Regions from separate parts of the Homo sapiens genome. Here region 1 is linked to region 2. The links are contacts of gene promoters, found by promoter capture Hi-C in blood cells and fetal thymus (Javierre and others, 2016). All regions are on one chromosome and are shown on one strand. Each heading gives the region's core, a stretch centred on a gene start or on the middle of the fragment in contact. The rest is flanking DNA. Distances are from core to core; before and after follow the strand shown. Region 1 holds the start of CNBP (CCHC-type zinc finger nucleic acid binding protein). Region 2 has its middle 29 kb from the start of RPN1.

The links. The method cuts DNA at HindIII sites, captures the fragments that hold promoters and counts their contacts. A CHiCAGO score of 5 or more calls a contact.
Region 1: a contact is called between the fragment with the promoter of CNBP here and a fragment that was not itself captured in region 2, in 1 of 17 cell types (naive CD4 T cells). The highest score is 6.0, in naive CD4 T cells.

What each region holds. Positions count from the first base shown.
Region 1 is chr3:129,181,371-129,186,668 of GRCh38, forward strand. CNBP (CCHC-type zinc finger nucleic acid binding protein) reads right to left here and starts at 2,526. Exons shown (of 5, transcript NM_003418.5): 1 at 2,406-2,526. LOC105374101 (a long non-coding RNA gene) reads left to right here and starts at 2,704. Exons shown (of 2, transcript XR_924469.3): 1 at 2,704-3,102. RefSeq lists an enhancer at 2,860-2,949. The HindIII fragment of the contact is 13,108 bases long and covers 1-4,544 here.
Region 2 is chr3:128,677,786-128,682,429 of GRCh38, forward strand. No RefSeq gene overlaps it. Among named protein-coding and RNA genes, the nearest start is that of RPN1, 29 kb to the left of the region's middle. RefSeq lists enhancers at 2,735-3,427, 2,902-3,031, 3,142-3,311 and a silencer at 3,372-3,591. The HindIII fragment of the contact is 2,573 bases long and covers 628-3,200 here.

The sequences.
Region 1 (5,298 bases), core at 1,276-3,775, 500 kb after region 2:
TGGCCAGGCGCGGTGGCTCCTGCCTGTAATCCTAGCACTTTGAGAGGCCGAGGGAGTCGGATCACAAGGTCAGGAGTTCGAGACCAGCCTGGCCAACATGGTGAAACCCCGTCTGTACTAAAATACAAAAACTAGCTGGGTGTGGCGGCGGGCGCCTGTAATCCCAGCTACTTCGGAGGCTGAGGCAGGAGAATCGCTTAATCCGGGAGGCGGAGGTCGCAGTGAGCCGAGATCGCGCCACTGCACTCCAGCTTGGGCGACAGAGTGAGACTCCGTCTCAGAAAAAAAAAAAGAAAAACCCCTGGTCTTCCACTGATTTGGTTCAAAATATTTTACAGACTGCACCATCTGAAATACATTACCTCTCCTGTTACCAATATGAAAAAAAAGAGGACCTTTGGTTCCTCAGAAAAACACAAACTGTTATTTTTTTAAAGAAAAACTTATCAAGAGATGAAATCGGAAAAACTTAAGTCTTTAATTCTGCCCTTGGGAATGTAATAAATTATTCCTTTTATATTCCAATACACAAAGAACTCTTGTAGACAAGAATCAGGCTCAACAAACTAAAAACAGCATGTACCTAGGATCCTGGCAGTTTACAGGTGTTTGATTATCCTTAACCAGAGTAACTCATTAGAAGCATTTAAAACTATTTAGGAGGGGGGAGGGGGAAGCCCAGGAGATAAGTACTATATCTCTTATCTTTTTGAAACCCTCAAAGCTCTACACTCCAGTTATACTGCTTGAACAAACAAATAACATAAAATTGCTAATTTAAATTCGAATGGAAATAGTAACTGGTTACGTTTCACTCCAAAATTGGGTCAAACAATAGGAAAGGGGGAAAAATCTACTTTTAAAAATGTAATTTAAAAGCAAGATGGGGATATTCATTAGACCTCCTTCACTTTGAGAAAGACAAAAAACAAATTCAGTTTTGGCTTATCTCACCTGAGTCCTTCTGAATAATGCCTGAAACACACTAGCTAAAATCACAGACGATTACTGAGCAATGTTCTCTTTTTACAAGACCCCCAAGACCAGAAACAGTCACTTCCTTTGGAAGTGCCCTGTGGCTGAGGCCATATGGTTAACATGTGGGAACAAGCACAAGCCTTACCCATAATAAAATCAACACCTAAACCCAAATGTGGACCATTATGCCATTCTAAAACAGGTTCTCACGATATGGAAAAATCTAGATGGAGGGGAGCTAGTTGAATTTCGTGTCTCGTTTGTAATTACATCTGTTTCATTAATCCAAGAAATGATGCAGACTACCGCCCGCTGCTGTGGTTTTGGAGGTTTGACAAATTCGTGTTTTTTCTGGTAATGGCGCTTTTAAAGGATCCCAGCAACTTAAATAGTGTTAACTCTTGGAATGTGAGCCCCATCAGCCCCTTTTGGAATGGTAATGTAACACAAGCAACTTAGTATTTAAATGACGATAAAAATTCAAGAATCGGAAAACTATCAAGGATAGGGAGTATAAACTCTAAAAGCTCCCAAGTCTTCCAGCAGTCTCGCCACTCCAAACACAAAGGCTTCTTCAGGAACCCTTTGTTGTTGTTTGTTTGTTTGTTTGTTTGTTTTTTTAAGACGGAGTCTCTCTCTGTTGCCCATGCTGGAGTGTAGTGGCGCGATCTCGGCTCACCACAACCTCGGCCTCCGGGGTTCACGCGATTCTCCTGTCCAGCCTCCCGAGCTGCTGGGACTACATGCGCCCGCCACCATGCCCGGCTAATTTTTTATTTTTAGTACAGACCAACTTTCACCATATTGGTCAGGCTGGTCTCGAACTCCTGACCTCGTGATCCGCCCGCCTGGGACTCTCAAAGTGCTGGGATTACAGGCGTGAGCCACCGCGCCCGGCCTAAGAACCCTTTTCTAAGGCCCCCAAAACCCTTGGCACATGGCCCGCCAGGCGCACGACCCCAGCACATGGCCTGCACGACTATACCCACCCCATCCCCCCTTCATCCGCAGCCGGGAGCCTTTCCCCACCACACGGACTCCTTCCAGTGAGTTCCCGCCAAATCCACCCTCGGTCCCTCATTCCGCGACCCTCGAAGCGTCAGGGCCTCGGCCCCAAGGGCGCACGGGCGGGCCTCCTCTGCCCTAAGCCTGCGGCCTGGGGTGCGGCCGTGGCGCCGAAAGACCCGCATGCTCGGCGACCCAGCTTTCCAGGACGAAGAAAGGACAGAAGTGTCGTCCGACAGCGGTGCGCCAGAAACCCGGGTCCGAGGCGGCGGCAGCAGCCGAGCTTCCCGCCTGACGCAGCAGAGGCGCAGGCCAAAGTGCGGCCGCCATCGCCACCTCGCCGCTCCCTACCCTCTCTGTCCGCCACAGACCCGACCCGCACTGCGGCTCCGTCAGCGCCGGGCCCCTCCCCCAGCCCTCACCTTCCGCGTCGGAGCGGGCCCGCAGCGGCGGAGACTCGGACGCAGGCCTGGGGAAGACGGCTCGCAAGGTAGAGGCTGTTTATTTTGAGGGTCCTTGCCTGCGCCACACGCGGGTCTGCACACGGCCCCACATACGCCGCTGCGCACGGCTCTCCTCCGCCTCGCCCACGCGGCCAATCAGCGCGCGGGGTTCGGCAGTCCAATCAGAGCCGCCCGCGGCAGGGCCGCCCACTAGAGCGCGGCGCGGGGCGGGTGTTTCTGCGCGCAGCGTCTTTTCCCGCCGTGCCCCGCGCGCGGCCTTTCACGCCGGGATCCGGGTCCCGGTGCTTCTCGGTTCATTCCCAGCTGGGTCCGGGCCCGGCCAGACTGGGTGGAAATCTGGCTGACCTTGGTGGTCTGTCTTGGCCAGCTGGAGCAAAGGGATGCCAGGGGACGGGTCTCGGTGCAGTGACTGCCATTAGCTTGGGGCCGCAGAAAGTTTCTCCCCTTTCTCGGGCTCCTGCCAGGCCCTTGGCTTTCAGAGCCAGGCCCGATTTCTAGATAACATTTAAGTTTGCAGAAAAGGGGATGCCAAGTCACGGTGGTCACGGCTGTGGGATGCAGCCTCTGAGATTTGTATTAATTTTTGTGAGCCGGGGAAAGGCCTTGCTGCTTTCTCCGCCAGGACTGATGTGTCTTCCCAAGATGAAAGTGCCTGGTAAGGGCGAGGGGCCTCCCTGGGAAGGTCATGAGCATGTAAGGTAATGGGGCCTAGACTGTGACTTTTGGCACGTTTATGAGTGACATCCCCCGGGAGGGCAAGGATAACCATTTGACCTGGTCTGTCATATTCAGGAATAGACTTCAGTTTAGTTGTGGTATTTTCTCCAAAAGAGATTTGTGTATATAGCCCTAGATAGTCTTGTCAAGATTAAACCCAATTTAAACTGTTAACTATAAAATATTTTAGAATTTTGTCTCATTCTAGAATGGCTTTATTCGAAACAAAAAAAAAGGAAGAGTCCCAAGTTTCGTCTCAGTGAAACCTGCCAGTTCAACACTATGATTTATTTTTCTTTTTTTCTTTAATTTTTTTTTTTTTTAAGAGTAGGGTCTTGCTCTGTCGCTGGGTTTACAGGCATAAGCCACCAATCCCAAATCCCGGGGCTATGATTTTTGAAATCATGTTCGTGAGAAGGCAGAGCACATGTGTTGAGAGTCAGACTTTAAACCTGGGTTCAAATCATTAGTGCTTAATCATTGTAAAGCAGTTAGGAGGTTGCGTTCAACATAGCAATTATCAAAGAATGAATGTATAACTTTAAAGACCAATGATATTTTAAACTTTTTTTTTTTTTTGAGAACGGAGTCTCACTCCGTTGCCCAGGCTGGAGTGCAATGGCACGATCTCAGCTCACTGCAACCTCCGCCTCCTGGATTCAAGTGATTCTCCTGCCTCAGCCTCCCCAGTAGCTGGGATTATAGGCATGCGCCACCACGCCCGGCTAATTTTGTATTTTTAGTATAGGCGGGGTTTCTCCATGTTGGTCAGGCTGGTCTCAAACTCCCGACCTCAGGTGATCCGCCCACCCAAAGTGGTGATCGTCCTCCCAAAGCACTGGGATTACAGGCATGAGCCACCGCGCCTGGCCGAACTTTTTAAATTTATTTATTACTATTTTTTGAGACAGGGTCTCCCTCTGTTGCCCAGGCTGGAGTGCTGTCTCAGCTCACTGCAACCTCCGCTTCCCATGTTTGACCAATTCTGCCTCAGCCTCCTGAGTAGCTGGGACTGCAGGCGCCCACCACCACGCCTGGCTAATTTTTGTATTTTTAGTAGAGATGGGGTTTCATCATGTTGGCCAGGCTGGTCTTGAACTCCTGGCCTCAAGCGGTGCTAGGCCAAAGTGCTAGGATTACAGGTGTGAGCCACTGCACCCAGTGCCCCCAAAGTGCTAGGATTACAGGTGTGAGCCACTGCACTCAGCCTTAAACATTTTTTTAATTAAAGCAACCTAAGGTAAAATTTTTTAACCAAATTTAACCCATTCCCAATCAGATTGAATAAATGCCTAGCAGCTTATGTGTTGTGCTAAAACACGATATATTATCTGCCAATAAAAAACAGTATTTTGTATTTATATAGTTTTATTACCAAGAAGCTTACTCAGCTTTATGATTTCCCCTTTGTAATCTGATTAACCTTCATAGTATCTTGAAGTAATGTATAGTGTAGCAATCAGACACTTAGGTAGTGACTTCGTGAGCTCTGACAATGAGTCAATATAATGCAAGAGGCTATGTATGAAGTCCAACCTGGGTGCGTCCACACCACACCAAGAGGACAAGTTAAAATTACCATATGGCCAAAAATTAATATTTTCTGACTTATTTTTGTTTACCATTCCAACCATAGTACTGTATAAAATGTTTGCTATTCATTATAGACCCAGGAATGGAATATTCCTAATATTAAAACAAAAATTTCAACAGCTATAGAAAATGAAAGTGAGTGTGAGATAGAGATACTGGACATAATGTTCTATAGGTTTTAAAAGACTTAAGTAGAAGAAATGGAAACAATGTCTTTACTTCTTGGCAGTGGAGTGGTAACAGCTAATGGCTCTTTCTACCTGGCATGCAGCTTCCTGTAACGACTATTATTAATAGAGCCAGGCTGATCGTGAGGCGCCAGAAAAGGTGTATGGTGGAATTTAACTACAATGGCTTGTATTGCCTGGATATACCCTTTGGTATGCCTATTTTACTAGAAATGTTTGAAAATAGGAAAAAGCTCACTCAAAAGATAAGCTGCCAGTGGGACTTGAAGAGGCTCCCATTACATTCCTCTTCCCTGGAGATGTTTTATTCCCCTCCTCTCCTCCAGTGTTCAGTCTCATGCTCAGCATTGCAA
Region 2 (4,644 bases), core at 664-3,163:
CATTTTTCAAAAATCAAGCCAGTCCCCTATTTATGAACAATTAGTTTGCTTCCATGCTTTTGCCATTCAAACAGCCCTCAACTGTACCTCTTTCTACGTTTGTCTGTGCACATGGGGGAATACATATGTAAGATAGTTTCCTTGGCCCTGAAGTGCTTAATCAAAGGATTGGTACAAAGGATTAATGTTACATTAACAGATATGCCAGCTTGCCTCCTCATGGAGTTGTAAAAATGTACACTCCCACTTGTAGGTATCACAGCCTGCTTTCCCCAGCCTTGCAAACAGTGTCCCATCACAAGTCATTCTGAATGCTAGTATAGGACACCAAATCTCTCTTTCCTCCTAACAACCTGGCTAGGCAGCCAGGACAGGGATTCCTATTTACTACACTCTGGTTTTATAGGTAAGTAAACAGATTCCCAAGGATAAGGAACCTACTTTTCCCAACCTCAACCTGAATTTCTGGGATTAATACCTTCTAAGAATAGATATGAATGTGTAGTGTTGTAGCAGTAGCAGTAGTATTTAATAGTAGTAGTAGTAGTGTAGTACCATCATCCCCATTCCCCATTCCTCAAGCTGGAAGCCATTCTTTTCTTCACTTCTGGTGGAGATGGGGACAAAAGCTTTGTTTCTTTTTTTTTTTTTTGAGACGGAGTCTCGCTCTGCCACCCACGTTGGAGTACAGTGGCAGGATCTCGGCTCACTGCAACCTCCACCTCCCGGGTTCAAGCAATTTTCCTGCCTCAGCCTCCAAATTAGCTGGGATTACAGGCCTGCAACACCATGCCCAGTTAATTTTTGTTTTGTTTTGTTTTGTTTTTTGAGACAGAGTCTGGCTCTGTCGCCCAGGCTGGAGTGGAGTAGCACGATCTCAGCTCACTGCAACCTCCATCCCCCTAGTTCAAGCGATTCTCCTGCCTCAGCCTCCTGAGTAACTGGGATTACAGGTATGTGCCACTAAGCACAGCTAATTTTTTTTTTTTTTTTTAGATGGAGTTTTACTCTTGTTGTCCAGGCTGGAGTGCAATGGCGCAATCTCAGCTCACTGCAACCTCCACCTCCTGGGTTCAAGTGATTCTCCTGACTCAGCCTCCTGAGTAGCTGGGATTACAGGCATGCACCACCATGGCCGGCTAATTTTGTATTTTTAGTAGAGATGGGGTTTCTCCATGTTGGCCAGGCTGGTATAAAACTCCTGACCTCAGGTAATCCGCCCGCCTCAGCCTCCCAAAGTGCTGGGATTACAGGTGTGAGCCACTGCTCCCGACCCATTTTTTCTTTTTTCTTTTTTCTTTTTTTGTATTTTTAGTAGAGATGGGGTTTCACCATGTTGGCCAGGCTGGCCTAGAACTTCTGACCTCAATTGATTCTCCCATCTTGCCCTCCCAAAGTGCTGGGATTACAGGTGTGAGCCACTGCACCTGCCCAAGAGCTTTGTTTCTATCCTTTCTAGTCCATTCCCTCATAATTTCTGAGCCCCAATCCTTCCCTTCTTCCAACCCTCTTCTCTTTGTTTTCCTACTAGGCCTGCCTTTGCGAAGTCCCACTGTAGATCATAAGGAGGCTGCAAGAACTGATGAGTGGTCCATTTCCTTGCAACCTCTAGAAGCCGGAATATACTTCAGGCAGGGCCTTGTTACCAGAGACAATGTGTAGCAGTTAAGGCCAGAGCCTTCCACTCCACACCACCCAGGAATTGCTATGGCTGTTCTGTGACCTTGGCCAAGTTACTTCTGCTTTCTTCACTGTCCTTATTTGTCAAATGGGAATGCTAGTACTAATCACCTCACAGAGTTGTAGTAAAAACTGCAGGCTGGTGTAGTGGCTCACATCTGTAATACCAGCACTAAGGGAGGCAGAGGTGCGAAGATAGCCTGAGGCCAGGAGTTGGAGACCAGCCTGGCTAATACAGAGAGAACCCCATCTACACACATGCACCTGTGACTGTAAAGACTACGTGACTGTTGCTACTACATTATTATTATTATTAACAGAGGACACTATTAAGAATCCAGCATTGTAATCTGAATACTCATTTTAATCCTTCCAACGATCCCCCAGATCGTTGTCTCATTTCACGAAAGAAAAGGAGCCTCTAATCCCATCCCTACCAGGGTTTGGCAAAGTGGGCAAGTGAGAGGCTCAACCATGAGCTTCAGTTCCTCCTCTGTAAATGGTAACAATGGCACTGTCACAAAGAGGACCAAGTGAGACCACAGGAGGCCCGTGTGTGTGCGTGTGTGTGTGTATGTGCCAGAGACAGAAAGAGAGAGAGAGACAAAGTTTCACTCTTGCTGCCCAGGCTGGAGTGCAATGGTGCAATCTCAGCTCACCGCAACCTCCACCTCCTGGGTTCAAGCAATTCTCCTGCCTCAGCCTCCTGAGTAGCTGGGATTACAGGCATGCGCCATCATGCCCAGCTAATTTTGTATTTTTAGTAGAGATGGGTGAGTTCTCCATGTTGATGAAGCTGGTCTCGAACTCCCGACCTCAGATGATCCGCCTGCCTCGGCCTCCCAAAGTACTGGGATTACAGGTGTAAGCCACCCAGCCCGGGCTTTTTTTTGGGGGGGGACGAGTGTCCCTCTGTTGCACAGGCTGGAGTGAAGTGGCACGATCTCGGCTCACTGCAACCTCTGCCTCCTGGGTTCAAGCAATTCTCCTGCCTCAGGCTTCCAAGTAGCTGGGACTACAGACGCCACCACGCTGGCTAATTTTTGTATTTTTAGTAGAGACGGGGTTTCGCCATGTTGGCCAGGCTGGTCTCGAACCCCTGACCTCGTGGTCCGCCCGCCTCGGCCTCCCAAAGTGCTGGGATTACATGCTTGAGCCACCCCGCCGGCCGGCCGTTCTTAAACGCACGACTACTTCCCTAGCTTTCCAGCACCAAATCCAGCGGCCCCACCCGGCCACGCCCCCACGCCAGGCCATGACCCCCATATGGCTCACTGCGCAAGCTCACACCCAGTCCCAGGAAGCGAGCCCCACGTCGCCCCAGCTCTGCATTCACAGCCGCCAAGCGGTCCCGGAAGCCGAATGCCGGATAGGTCAAAGACAGCGCCGCTGCTCCGGCACTGCCGCCAGAGGGCGCGGAGTCGCCGTGTTGGCCTGCACCTCCCTTGTCACGTCAGCCGAACGGCTACGGCAATGGAGGATTTTGCCGTATGCGACGACAGGATGACTGCTTCCCCTGAAGCTTCACCAAACACGGAGAGGCTTTCCTGTCCCTGGGAGACGCGGTGATGTGACGCAGCGGTTGCAGCGAAGGTTTCTTGTAAAAGATGGCCGCTGCGGAGTTGCTAGGTGTCTCCTGGCAGGCGGCGGCCGCACCACAAGATGGCGGCCCGCCCCAGGGTCCCACACGCGGGGCTGCGGAGGCGGCGGCCCCGAGGGTCCCCGCCCCTTGCTGGCCCTGTCCCCGCGTGCGGGGCTGCGACCTGCCTTTGTGTGCGGGTGGAAGTGCGGGCCGCCTTGGGGCCGAGTTGCAACTTCGCGACACTCCACTGGAGTGCGATGAGACGATGAGATGTTACCTCCTAACACTTCGGGAGGTGGGCAGCATGGCAATTCCTAGTAACCTCAACGCGATTCACTCAGACTTCCTTTTTCCCATCCTGAGCCGCAAAACCAGGAACTGGTGAAATAAATCAGGCCATCTTTCAGAGGAATGGCCTGCCACCGTTAAAAAGAGCAAAGCTGCAGTTTATGTACTAATGTGGAACCAGCTCTGAGATAAATTAAGTGAAAGAAAGCAAAGCACAGGAAAATGTGTATAGATATGCCTTTGTGTTTTTAAACAAGAAGACCCACATAAATGAAGATATGAATGTGTAAGCATAGTATAGCGGTAATGGTAATAGCGATCGCCCAGCCTAAGGAAGGGAATGGAGAGATACGGAACAAGGATGGGAGGAGACAGTTTTCATCTAAGACCGTTGGGTTTTCTGAGCTTTGTACCATGGACAGGTGTTAATTTTAAATTTTTTGTAAATATTTAAATTATGGCTTAAAGACAAGTTCTTTTGTAAGGGTATAAGGGCAGACTAGCACATAGAAAAAAAAAGACTTTTTTAACCTGGAACCAAGACATTTGATAAACATTCATGAAACTCAATTTTCAAGGATAAAAATTTCAAGGTCAATACTGTAGTACTTACAGCAAAGAATGCCAATCATTGTGACAGCCTGAGCCCTCTTGAAAGCTAGTTTTTGTTGGCGGGGGGTCAGAAAATTTGGCCTGGGAAGCAGGAGGCACTCGACCTATTTGCTGATGCTGAATGCCTTTCTACTGTAAGCATACATAGTCTCAATGGCTTCTTCTGATTTTGGTATATCTTAGGCTTTTCGGGTTAATATCGAAAACAGTGGCAACATTGAGAGTTTGAGCCAAGTTCTGCCTTAGAATCATCCAGAAAGGTGTTTCCACTGCCTGAAAAATAAGTAGTAGCAGTTTCAGAATTGGCATTGAGTTTGGAAATCGCCTATTTGAACTTGAAAGAAGTGTTAGTCCTCCATCCTAAAGCAACAACCATACTGAGCCTTTACTAGTGTGCCAGGCACTGGAGAAGAGGGTATTCTTTTTTTTTTTTTTTTTTTTTTTTTCCTGAGACGGAGTTTCACTCTTGTTGCCCAGGCTGG